3 separate regions of the Homo sapiens genome follow, and all the other regions are linked to region 1. Evidence: promoter capture Hi-C in human tissues and cell types (Jung and others, 2019). All regions are on one chromosome and are shown on one strand. The core of a region is centred on a gene start or on the middle of the fragment in contact, and the rest is flanking DNA. Distances in the headings are between cores, read along the strand shown.

Region 1 (4,466 bases), core at 1,167-3,666:
CATAACATTCCTGTCCTGATATTATCCTGTTGTCACTGCTTCTGTGCCCTCTGGAGTTCTCCTGCTGGCTTTCTATCCTGGGTATCTAGCTAGGCTTCCCATCAATTCTTAGAGCTCCTGATATCCTTCTACTAAGTTCCTTCTTGCCTAAATTAGGCAGAGAGTTTTCAGTTGCAACCAAAGACTCACACTTTAAAAAAAAAAAATCTTCTTCAGCTCATCCCTCATAACATCACTAGATTGAAACAGGAACAATGTATATTTATTGACAACTAAAAGACCTACATGGATTATACCACCTAACACATTCTAGGAGCTCAAAAAATTGCTGAACAAATAATAAGTATTCCAAAAAACAGCTTTTGGGAAGTATTATTTTAAGTCATTTTCTTAATAAGGAGAAAGACTATATATAATGGTACCTAAGAGAGAAATGGTGCCTAACACCTAGTTGCTCCTCTAGGAGTGGAGTAAACTGCAACATATGTTTGTGTTGAATTTTGGTGGCTATTGAATAAACTAATGTCTCTTATTTTAGAGAAATAAAATACTTAAGACAAAATATAAACTTTAAATCAATACTAAGGAGCCATTTAGGAAAATCTTGCCCTCTCTGAACTAGACATTTTACTAGGCATTTACCATTTAAACCTCAACGCCATGTGTCAATGAACAATATTTAGTGAGCCGATACTATGTGGCAGACATTGTGCTAGGGCCAGGAGATACCCTGAGACACTCAGCTTGGGCAGTAAGAGACTCTTCCATAGTCACACAGATGGTGAGTTGGTGGTGTAAATATTCTTTTCCTGTGTAAATGCAATTATAGTCTTTGCTCTATTTAATTATACTAAATAAATAGCTGCTATTTATTCTAAACAGATAATCCAATCAATATAGATGGGCTTAAAATTTTAAGTATTCTCACTTTAGTGACAAACACCTTGGGGATCTTAAAGGACTGTTTTATTTATTGATACCAGTCACTGTCAATATTTTTGGTTCAAAGACGCTTTCATATTCGATTTTCTGATAGAAGACAACGCAATGAAAACTATCAAGTTGCTTATGAAAAATTCTTAGGATGACACTGCACCTAATGTTTGTAGTCAGTTGTTTGTCATTCTTTCCCTTGTCCTATGCTGTGTCCAGGACTGCTAGATAAGTAGGTACCCAGCATCCTAGCGTCCAGATATCAAAACCATGAAAATGAAGCACTACAAGCCAGACAGATAACCTCCAGAGGGAGCAAACGAATAAACCCCCAAATCCTGTGGATCTAGAAGTAGAAAATAATCGCTGAACCACTGATTTGAGACCAATGAGAACATTAAGGACACCTCAAAATAGATCAGGGCACTGTTCCTAGCCCAACTCTGTGGCAGAACATAAACCTGCAAGAAATAGGATTAACATACTATCTTTGCAGTAAGTTAAATCCTGAACTTCTACAAAATACAGTTTACTCCAATTTAGTTACACTCTTCCTGCTTCTGGTGTCTTACCTCCACGTTGGACTAAGGTTTTCAATTCGGTGGTGGAATACTTACCTATTAAAATTACCCACTTTGCTTTAGTGTGAGTTTCTCAGCATGTTTTACACAGGAGTGACCTGAATGACTCGGAAGTGGCACTTGAGTGTGCCAGGCCCTGGAATTTAATGGTATGGTTCTGTGGTTGTTGTCTGTTTGCGGTTTTATTGCTGAATTAGTAGTAACCACAGTAATCACACCCTTTCTCATTTCTCAGGCTTGGGGATTTCGTCCACCTCTGGCGGGTTGGTTCCCCTGACGTTTCTTAAAGTTACTGTGAATTTGTTCTGGTCAGTACCATAGAGTGTATTATCCTAAGGAGGGCCACTGTAGGGCCGCTAGGACTAGAGGCAACTTGAACTTCACAAGTTAGCAGAGCAAGGACTCCCTGGAACACCGAGTTAGGGCCACGGGGTCTGTTTGCTCAGATTGCCCGCCAGCCCTGGGAAAGGAGTCTGGGGGCGAGCAGGCTGGGTTCCCGGGTCTCAGTCGCCGCAGTGGTGGCTACAGACTGCGCATGTGACCCAGGGGCCGGCGACGCAGGTGCCGGAGAGCGAGGAGGAGGGCGGCGTGGAGGAGGGTACTTCCGGGACCGGCGGGCGCGCGCTGGCAGCTCGCCGACGGCGGGGGCGGGGGCGGGGGGCGGCAGGGGAGCGAGCGCGCTGGCGGCGGGCGGTGGCGTTGCGCGCGGGGTGGCGAAAGGATGTGCGCGGGATCGCGGGGGAGGGGGAGGGAGCGCGCGGGCTAGCTGGAGGCGGGAGGGGGCGGAGCCCTGTGGCGTCTGAACCCGCCCCGGGGGTGCCAAGGTGCGTCTCCAGTCTGACGCGACCGCCTGGGGCGGAGTCAGCGGGACGTGCCACCTGCAGTGCTGGCTAGGGCTTTTTATTTACTAGGGAGCAGTTTCCCCGCGCGACAGTTCGGGAGCGCGCAGGCAGTCGCGCGCACACACGCACGCAGGCACACACACACACACACACACACACACACACACACTTTCGCACACACAAACACGCTAGGACGCTCGTCTTCGCTACTGCATCCCCGAACCAGCAGAGCGAAGCTACTGCGGGTTCTGTTAACCTCAGCATCGTGGGGCGAAGCAGAGCCATTGTGCATCAAGGAGAGGCCGGTGCCTGCGCTGCCGTCTCTGGCACCTAACCCAGCAGACCGCTCACCCCATCGGGTAAGCCAGTCTCTCTCCTTGTAACCTGTTCTGCAGACCTGAGGAAGAGGGTGGGAGGCTGCTGGTGCGCCAAGTGGGGGCAGACCCGGAGTTGACATTTCAGGGGCTTGCAGCCCATGCAGCCTCTGCCCGTGTCGTCTAACGGGAGCAGCCACTACTCAGGTTACTTATGCTGCCAGCCCTGGAGTCGCTCCCCCTTTCTTCCCTCCCCCTGAGCCCAATATGTACTGTGCTCCTTGGTTGCCAAGGAGACTTGCTTAAACATCAGCCGTGGGACATCTATTGAAAGAACTGGTTTCTTAAATGATGCCGTTATTTATTTTGATATTTAAAATAAAATATACACTGAGGACCTTTCGTAATTTGGCATTTGTTAATCTGTATTCAGGTGGCGGTTTCATTCAACTTCAAGAAAAGCCGTAATTGCACTATATGGTATGCTTTAAAAAGGATTCGTCAGATGAATTTTTCAACGGATTGTGTCTTGAATCATAATTTACTCCCATTTTGGTGATCTTATAAAGAAAGATGACTGCAGTTTAGATCCCTTCTTCCCCTCTATTTCCAGTTTTATTTTGCAGTTCACTTAGTCGTGATTATTTTAAATTAAAAGCAGATGATTTAATTGTGTTTCCCCACACAAGAATGAGCTTCTATTGTAAATTGACCAGAACAGGAATACGTTTGTGAATTCGTAACGTAAGAAGGTAGCATTCATGACATACATCTTTGCTAGCATTTTTATATCCCCTGCATCAGTATTGAAGCGCAGTTTTTTGCACCTCTGCTCATTTCTGAGAAGATTCTGTTTTTTAAAAAATCTCTTATTGATTATTTTTAGATCTATCTCTATACACAGATAGAGATAGATATAAAATGTGTGCCATGGCTTACTAGAGCTTATATGAAAGTGCAGTGGTTTTTGCTTTTTGTTTTTTTTCTGATGGGACTGGGTCCTCTACTGGAACACTGATAGGCCAATGGAACAGGTCAGCCTAATACCTGGGCTGTCAGTTTTGTTTTATTTTGAGGTCTCGGGTGTCTATTGGGTGAACTTGTAACACAGTACTTGAAGGCATCAGCAATCCAGTAATTACACTTTGCACGAATTTCATGCCTCCATCACAAACAAATGGCCCAGTAAAGATCCACTGGCATTCAAGAATTAATTTTGTTTTCCTTGGATATTTGTTCATCTTTTCTACTTCTTGTTAAATGACCCAAGGAAATAAGTCAAATTCTTCTAATTTAGATTTTAAACTCTGTCATAGAGAGTGTAATAAATAATGTGAGGAGCAAGTAAGCCAAATAATGACAGAGGTAGATAGAGGGGATTTATGCAATTCACAGAGCTTTGGGAGATGAATGATGACAAACATTTTACATTACAGTGTAGAAAGCACTTTTCATATACTTCTTTTTTAATCCTCACAACAACCCTTTGAGGCCAATAAATTACCTTCCATTTAAAGCTGAGGAACCCAAGACTCAAACCTTGCTGAAGGTCACAGCTAGTGAATGGGGAAGCCCTTTCTGGATCCAGTCTCCTTGCCTTTAAAAAAAAGTTGTGTGTGCGTTTCAGATGTGTGCAGGGATCTGACAAGTGAGATAAAGGAGTGGAGCAGGCCTAGACAAGACACGTGGGAGAGAGGGTAGGGAGTGGAGTGTGAACTGTGGCCTCTGGAACTTGCAAACCACTGTAAAGGAGGCAGCTCCCACTCCACTGTAGCCGATTGTTACTGTCCAGGCTC
Region 2 (4,466 bases), core at 912-3,411, 750 kb after region 1:
TTTAGTCACATCCACATCCTGCAGCCTATAAGGAGCTTTCACGCTTTTGGGCTCGCTTTAGATCTTTAATACCCTTTCCTTTTGTGTCAAGGAGCTCACGAGGCGTAAAGAAGCACTGATAAACCCACTTAGATCCCTTCCTGGGCCGTCACCTCTCGCTGCCAAGCGGCTTTAGGTGGTAACTGATCTGTGACAGGCTGCCAGTCAAACAGAGCATTTCTGAAAGCTGACACAAAAGACTGAACGCTGGAGAATGGATAGGAAAAATAAGAAAAGGACCCAAACTGTATCAGTGCCCCCCACTCATCTCGGTCTGTTCCTCTTCGCTACCGCCCCCACCCTCTGGCCCACCCCTACCCTCCCTAACCTTTTTTGGTTGGTTTTTCTCTCTTTTCTTTTCTCATCCTCTTCCCTCCCAACCGCCCGCCTCCTCCCTCCCCCAGTTCCCTTTCCCAGAGCACAGCCTTTCCCCCCTGCTCTCTCTGGCTGGCTCCTTCTTAGTCAGGTTCATGGCAGGGGCAGCGTAGAGTGGAGAGATAGAGATCAGCAGCCCTTCCAAGCGGGGACTGCCCCAGTGCACTGCTGATAATAGAGGCAGAAGTGAGAGTGACAGTCAGATGGAAACTGACACAGGCCTTCTGTCAATGCCGCAGCTGCCCGTGGGACTGAGGAGGAAAGAGAGAGAGAGGGAGGGAGGGAGTTGAGCTGAAATGTCAGTGCCGATAACTGCACCAGCTCGCTATTTTTCTATGTAGGTGTCGTTCTATTCCACATGTGAGGCAAGGTTTTTTCCAACTCCGCAGCGCTTGCTGTTTCTTCTTGGCTGCTGTGAGTGTGTGAAGGAGCAGCTTACTTGGTGAAATCCTCACTTAATTTCTTCTGGTGCTGTGGAGCCCCGTTGTGTGATTGTGTTTGACAGTTTTTGTTCTCACAGCCTTTTGAGCATTTTAAAGATTGATAAATCTTGTCATATGAGAACCCCGAATGATGCCCGAATATTTCACATTCTTACAGCTGTAGATCGTTTCTGTATTTTCCTACATTAAAATAAGGCAAGAAAATATTAACTGAGAAATATGGGCAGTGACTCATTTTTCTGCCCAGGAGAAGGTTATGCTGAAAATGTCCCCAACAACAGACTTTTTATCTTGACTTTGGGACCTCTCTGGAGAGAACTTTAGGGTAGCTCTTCTTGTGTAATTAATTGTTTTCTTGAATTTTAAGAGTCGTAGTGGTACCATTGTTTATCAATAGATCCCATATTTCTATTTCTGAAGGTGAACTATTTTTAAATAAAATGACCAAAATGTATCTCTCTTTCTCTCTCTCTCTTTCTCTCTCTCTCTCTCTCTCTCTCTCACACACACACACACACACACCACACACGAAATAAAATAACAGTGACTGATGGTAACTATAGTTTCAGTTATACAACAAAGTGATAAAATCCATGAAGATACTTCAGTTCTGCTGAATCTCTACTTAACATCTCCAGTGGTTCAGAATCTCTACAAGGCTAGTAGCAGCTTAAAGTTTGAAGGATTTTTGTAACCCAAAAAATCAGGATCACCTGACATTTTACCCTGAGCTCAGTCCATTACAAATCATTTCTTCTTTTCTTTTTGAGAAAGTTACCAGCTGGGATCTTCTTTCTTGGCTATACTAAGGGCAAACCAAAAATCTGCACTAAAAGGGATGGGTGCAGATGAACTCATTTCACTATTGCGTATTTAAATAAAGGTAAGTGATAATAAACATGTTAGGTGATAGGTGATATAAAGATTATTATCCTGACAATCACCTCTTTCTAGGATGTTGCATTATGGAAGCATTGTGAGACACAGACACACACACACACACACACACACACACACGAGGGAGGGAGGAAGCAAGGGAGAGAGAAGATATCCCATGGGGGAATATTGATTATTTTTAATAGCCTGATTTAGCTTCTCAATTTAGTTTTTATGTCTTTTTCCTCTTAAGTAGATCTTTCAGGTGTATGTTTTATTCAAATTACAGTGCACCAAGGAGTATAGCTCAAGACAAAGTGAAATTATGTGGATTTAGAAAAAAAGGATCAAAATTATGGTTAGAAGAACTATATACATTTATAATTTTGCAGTACTGATATTTTATTTGATAGCATCTGTCAGAAACCATTAATCAAGTATCTGTATTTACATGGTGCTATACAACATTATGCAAATGGAGAGGCAAGAAAAGCAAGCCTAGGCTACCAGGGAGCTTTTTTCTCTAAGACATATAGAATTAACAAAGTTTTACACACAAGGCACAAAGACTAGAAGACAGCCACTAGCTAAGTGTATAAACTAAATTAACAATTGCATGCAAATAACATTCTATGCCAATGGGTCAGTGAAGAGAGTAGAGGGAACAGTTAGAATCATCATAGAAGTGTACGATGTAGAGAGAAGCAAGAAATGGGAAGGTTTTATGGACAAGATAAGATTTCAGGAGTTTCTTGAAATAAGGAGAAAAGGAGGAGTTATGAACCATTTCTTTCCATTCACAATAAATGCAGTCCTTTCTCAAGGATCTTTTCTCAATCCTTGGCCCTTGGCCTTTAACTTGCTTTTTGAAATGGAGATGACATCTCTGTTAGAGAGGTCAGAGTGAAAATTTTAGCCGTAAAGGCATCAGCACCAAACACTTATTGATGCATACTAAATGCTAAGTACTACTGTAGATGTCATTAAATTCATAACCTCCTCAGTCTTCCCAATGACGCTATGAGCTAAGTATTATTAACTTCATTTCACAGGAGAGGAAGGTAAGGCTAAGAGATGTGAAATACATATTCTCAGGAATATGTAAGTAATAGGGCATAACAGTCCTTCAACTCAGGCCATCATACCTCACATGTTTTGCTTTAATCATGACACATCCATACTTATCCAGTCTTCATGAGACTCCTGTGAGGTTGAGCAAAAGCAACTGTAATTATTTCAATGGTCTGCAAAGAACTCAAACTGTAGTTGAAAATTAGACCTTGCTACTAAGCTTCTTCAGTTTCCAGTAAGGCTTTGGATATTCCTTTATATAATGGTTCTATACAAACCATAATTGAGCAAACACTTGGAATCAGCTAGAAATATTAGGTGAAAGATATTTTTGGATCCCATTCAGAGTTTGTGATTCAAAGGTCTGGAATGTGTTCAAGAATTTACTTTTTTTTTTTTTTTTGAGACAGAGTCTCACTCTGTCAGCCAGGATGGAGTGCAGTGGCACCATCTTGGCTCACTGCAACCTCTGCCTCCTCTCACAGTGTGAGAGGACTAGTGTGAGAAAGCTGCTAATGAAAGAGCTGCTGAATGAAAGTACATTTCACCTGCCTACACCCACCCCCACCCGAGTGTTGTTTCAGCTATCTGCCCATCCACCCACTCCCCTCGGACCTCAGCATGGGCCTGGACCTGACCCTGAGCATGACATTTGGTGTAGTTGTGAACCTGACATAAAGATAAGGGATGTGTTGGGGATAGACAATGTGACTGAACCACAGAAACATCTTATGTAAAAATTTACTTGTCCCCTTAAGTAAAACAGATCAGTTAAACTAATAATATGTAGGCTAAAACCAAGGAGAAAATAAGCCTCCCCCTCTCTCCATTGCAATAGATATTCTGTACAGCACCATACTCTCTATGATGGGCAGCTGTAAGCAGTGACAATCAGGAACAAAGAGTTCATCTTGTTAAGACCACAGCTGCTACGGTGGACCCTGCAGAGAATCTCCTTGGATAATACTCTGCATCTCTACTTTCTTCTGGCTTTCCCTGGACAGATGTGTAGGAGTCCCATGAGTCTGGACCGTGGTCAAGGAACTGCTATTTATACTTCATTAATTATAAGCCATATCCAATACAAAGGGATAAATGCATATTATAGGGGTATTCTGCTATAGGGCCAACTATAGAAAATATGGGAATGACCAATTAATGCTGTTCTCATATTTTGAGTTTTTGGTTCACAACATGCAAATAAACAGTCTTGTTTTTCTTTTTAGAGCTTGGTGAACAGTGTGATTAATTGAATCAAACCACATGAGTGATCTTAGGAGAATTGGTATCAGCTGTGTGCAAATTAATCAAGCTAGGCTAAACGCTACTCTGCAGTTGATAAAACGTTTGTGGTTTACCTGAGAGGAATCAAGGAAGTAAGTGTAGTAAGAATCATGGTTTACAGAGAGATGGGGACCGTGACACTCTTAAACCTGGAATGGCTATAGCAATTGACAGAAGGCAACAACTGCAAGTTTATCTTGTCTCCAGATGATCAGGGCACCTGTTCGTTTAACTATGGCATGTGAGAGGGTCCATTCATATAATGAATGAAACACTGTGGATGCACTCCTGGCCATTATCTCTATAAGAAACAAATCTCATTGTGATTTTGGAATTAATAGATTAATTAAATCTCATAATGCCAGAGGCCAATTTAAT
Region 3 (4,466 bases), core at 947-3,446, 730 kb after region 1:
GGGAATAAATTGTCATTTAAGCTTATTAGAACTCAAGTTATTATTAAAAAAAGAAGCATTTCAACGCAAAAATCTTAATGCTCAACATAAAATGTGAAATCTCTTATTGTATATTCACCATTTGTATCCCATTTTACAATGCATTGTAGTTGATGTTATTTTTGAGAGTGAGGACTATGATGTTTGGTTTCCACTCATCTAAATAAAATAAACTTTACTGTTACTTTTTTGTTGTTTTAGAAATAATAACTTAATGATATATATGAAAATGTGTAATAAATAACAATGTTTTAATGGGTCTTCTATTGTGTTTGAAAAATGAATTAGAAAAGCTCTGCTTCAGGTTTATTTAATTAACTGGAATAAGGTTTAAAAGACGATGATACTAGAGTCTGTAAAATATTTATCACTAAATATAAAAAATATAAATTTCCAAGAAAGCAACATTACCAGTTACAATGGTAACTACAAATGTCTCAGCTGGTTCATAAATGCAGCTTATTTTTGAATGACTATTTAAATCTAAATTTTAGTACTTCTTTACATATTGATAATCCAAGGTGACATGCCCCTACTATTTTCCTTGGGCATTTTAGAACAAAAGAAAATAAACATCTCAAATTCAAATTGAAATGTGAAGTCAAATCTTGATCTTTTCTTGAGGTAGTACAATTATTTTGTTCCAATTTTTTCACATGCTAACATATTTGTAATAGTCTTTTTACAAGTCACCCCTCCCTTCTTCTACTCCTTCCTTCCTCCCCTCCCCTCCCCTCCCCTCCCTCCCTCCCTCCCTCCCTCCCTCCCTCCCTCCCTCCCTCCCTCCCTCCCTTCCTCCCTTCCTTCCTTCCTTCCTTCCTTCCTTCCTTCCTTCCTTCCTTCCAGAAATAGTTGTTAGCTATGCTGGATAAAATACTCTCCAGTACCTGGGAATAGAGATTAGAGAACAGTAAAGATAAGTAAACAGGCAATTGCAATACATTGTGAAAAATACTATAATGCAAAAGTTGTTGAAGGATACTTTAGGGGCAATTATGAGGAGAAAATATCCTAGTGAGGTGACACTAAGCTGAGACACAAAGAATGAATGGGAAGGTGCTAGTTGAGTATGGGAGGGATGGAGTCATGAGCACATGAAAACCAAATGAAAATTAGCTCATGTGCCACAAATTTGAGGATTTGCCTCAGTGGACAGATGGGAGGCTTTTAGACTCAATCCAGAGATGTGGAAATAAATTGTTGACATAGTATGGTTTTGTGGAAAGAATATGTGCTTCTGAGAAAGGCAGATCTAATTTGAAACCTGGCTTTACTTTGGCTTTGTGACTTGGGCATATTATTTAACCTTCTTGATTCTCAATTTCCTCATTTGCAAAATTGAGATAATGATATGTATTTTAAAAGAATGTTGTAAGGATTTAATAGGATAGCCACACAAAAGCGGTGGCTCATGCCTATTATCCCAGCACTTTGGGAGGCTGAGGTGGGCGGATCACAGGGTCAGGAGATCAACACCTGGCCAATATGATGAAACCCCTTCTCTACTAAAAATACAAAAATTAGCTGGGTGTGGCAGCCCGTGCCTGTGGTTCCAGCTACTCAGGAGGCTGAGGCAGGAGGATTGCTTGAATCCGGGGGGTGGAGGCTACAGTGAACCAAGATTGTGCCACTGCAGTGAGCCAACATCGCGCCACTGCACTCCAGCCTGGGTGATAGAGCAAGACTCGGTCTCAGAAAAAAGTGCCTTCCATGGAATTAATGTTTAATTAAAATTAGTTGCTAGTTACTTATTCTTCATATCTTAGTATTGGGAAAAGTTGAAGTCATCTGTGGAAAAAAAAATGTCTTTGACCGTAATCAGAGTACCCAGAGATTGGTTATGCAAAGAATTTTACAACTATCCTCTTTTTTTGCTCCCTCCCTTCTTCTCTCCCCCCTTTCTTATTTCTGCCTCTGTTTTCCTCCTTACAATTATGTTTTCTGTATAAGAAGGGGTTAGTGTCTTCTTCCCAAGCTTTAACTAAAATATGCTTGAGGGCACTTTTGGCTATGTTTCCATAGCTCCTAATGAAGAGTGTACATGCCATAATTCTTGTTTATAATGGAAGAAAAAAGTACAAAACCCAGAAAGGTCTCTAAGCAGAATATGGGGCCACTACACTTAATTAGCTAGGTGCAGTACAGGTTTGGAGTTCTTGGTGTTACCAACGGCATCCATAAAGGACGGAAGCGTACCTTAGGCAAAGAGCTCCACTACATGGTGGCTGTGTCCTTGCAATGGGACAGGCCCTAGCAAAGTTGAAGAGAATGGCAGTTTGAACTTCTCTGGGATACTGGAAGTGTCTCTTGCATAGCCTTTCAATAGTAGTAAATAGTATTTACTACCACTGAATACTCTGCTGATTATTAAGCTGTTATCTCTTTATCTTCATGTCCATTCTTCCATCTTCAGCTTTGTAGACATTCTTTTAAATTAAATATGTTTGTAAATAATGAAGTTAAGGGATGTTATAATGACTTGAGAAGTATAATTTTCCCAAGATTATTTGTCTGTTAAAATCCCTAAATATTTATATCTAAATTATTCTAAATATCCAAACTAAACCCAAACTAAATTTTCACTTTGGGGACCTTTAGCTTCTATCCAACTTACAACATTGCCCTTATGTATTTTTTTTAAAACTAGAACTTCGAAACTTAATTACATTTTCAAACCAAAGATCTCCAATATGGACTTACTATAAATTGTAGTATATCAATTGATGTTTAACTTTTAAATTTTATATGTATAATAGTTATAATTAATCTCCAACATACAGAAAAGTCTGTATTTGTTTTTACAAACTGAGCAGCATAAACATCAACTTGATTAATCTTTGTAGTCTTTTATCACTTTTATTTGCAGGTCTCTTAGTTTGCTTATCACCTCCTTTTTTTATTGTTGTAATTCCTTGATGTATTGTATTCCCTAAGTCTCCTAGGTATTTTAACTACTAGTCTTTTATTTTCTGGTACTCTACAAACATATTTAGTTTTACTTAAGACAAAACTATGAGATATGAATTGGGGTTCATTATTTATGGTCTTTTCTCTAAGGGATACAATTAGAAAAATAATGACAAGTGAGAGAAAACTCTTCTGTAAAAGTACAAAAATGCTTCATTTTATTCAAAAAGCAAGTTAAAACAGCTGCAATAGTACATAATGATATACATAATTTCCTGGGTGTATTGCCTGGATTCTTTTTAACCCTTTAAAAATAGAAATATTTATTATTTCAATAAAAGAAAGCAATCACATAGGACCAAGAGCTCTTGCTAAAAATGTGTATATTTCATACATTCTACTTGTGAAATATAGTAGGGGAAATATTTACGAGCACCATAAGATAGGAAGCTGAAACTGAAATCATTTCTAAATGAAAATTATGTGACAGTTTATCAGTATTTAATGCTAACATTGGTTGATGTGAGCATGAAGAATTTAGTAGCCATTTATCATAACTCTGTGTGTGGTTAGTTCTCTGATATACTTGCTTAGAGTAGAATGGTGTTTTAGTGGCAACATGAACCACAGCTTCAGTCTGAGATATTAAATAAATGGAAATGCCAAAAGAGGATTTGTTTTTGTTGCTTGGATTGTGTGTGTGGTTGTTGTTTTTCACATTCCTGTTAAAAGTAGTCTCCCATACCTTGCATGGGTTGGTTTTTGATCCACACTCCCCTGAACTATGGCTGGGCTTCTGCACCAGATGCAGGTGTCCCCTTGTGCTGTCAGCCAGGAATGATTAATGAGGATTTGCCCCTACTGAAAGCAGTCTTTGGAGCATTGTTCAGGGCATCTGTGGAACTGTCGGGGGAGACAAGGACACAAGTGAACAACCAATTATTTGGCCATCACTGAGGCAGCATGAAAAAGACATCAAATTGGACAGAGAAGCAATGCTTTTGTTTGGAGATCTAATATTATTTTTTAGGTATTAATAGTAACACAAGACTTTTAGCTTGTTTTAAAAGAATTTTGGTTAGGTCTAGGCTCTTAACCAGAAGTAGAATGCTTTTTTCTTTAAAGCTAATTGAATTACTTGAAAGTAGTATAAAAGGAATAAAACACCACCAAATTGATTCCTAAGTGGTTGCCTATTGTATAAAGATATATCGTTTTGCACGGCTAACATTAGAAAACAAGGACTAACTATGTAACAGGAGGGAAGGAGGATCCTCCATGCAGAGTTCCTAATTGTTGGTCATAGTTGACAAGGGCGAGGGGTTTTACAAGTGATCAGAGGGTCAGAGACATTGCACTGGAATCCTGAAGCAGCAAAAAACAAAACAAACCCAAAGCTGGGAAACGTTTCCTAGCCTATGTGCAGCATTTGAGTGTTTCCTTATTTCTAGAGTGACGTATACCCTTAGGTCTTAGTAAGAAAATATTTTTCAGGCTGTTACATTCTCATACTAGGTCTG

The links. The method cuts DNA at HindIII sites, captures the fragments that hold promoters and counts their contacts. A contact is called where the count stands out against the background at its distance.
Region 2: a contact is called between a fragment that was not itself captured here and the fragment with the promoter of KLHL32 in region 1, in 2 of the 25 tissues and cell types used here (dorsolateral prefrontal cortex and heart left ventricle).
Region 3: a contact is called between a fragment that was not itself captured here and the fragment with the promoter of KLHL32 in region 1, in 1 of the 25 tissues and cell types used here (hippocampus).

What each region holds. Positions count from the first base shown.
Region 1 is chr6:96,922,312-96,926,777 of GRCh38, forward strand. It overlaps KLHL32 (kelch like family member 32), which reads left to right and starts at 2,417. Exons shown (of 11, transcript NM_052904.4): 1 at 2,417-2,715. RefSeq lists a silencer at 2,144-2,453. The HindIII fragment of the contact is 13,841 bases long and covers 1-4,466 here.
Region 2 is chr6:97,668,769-97,673,234 of GRCh38, forward strand. All of the region lies in intron 3 of LOC101927314 (a long non-coding RNA gene), which reads left to right. Among named protein-coding and RNA genes, the nearest start is that of MIR2113, 350 kb to the right of the region's middle. RefSeq lists an enhancer at 1-299. The HindIII fragment of the contact is 3,426 bases long and covers 449-3,874 here.
Region 3 is chr6:97,652,629-97,657,094 of GRCh38, forward strand. All of the region lies in intron 3 of LOC101927314 (a long non-coding RNA gene), which reads left to right. Among named protein-coding and RNA genes, the nearest start is that of MIR2113, 370 kb to the right of the region's middle. The HindIII fragment of the contact is 7,031 bases long and covers 1-4,466 here.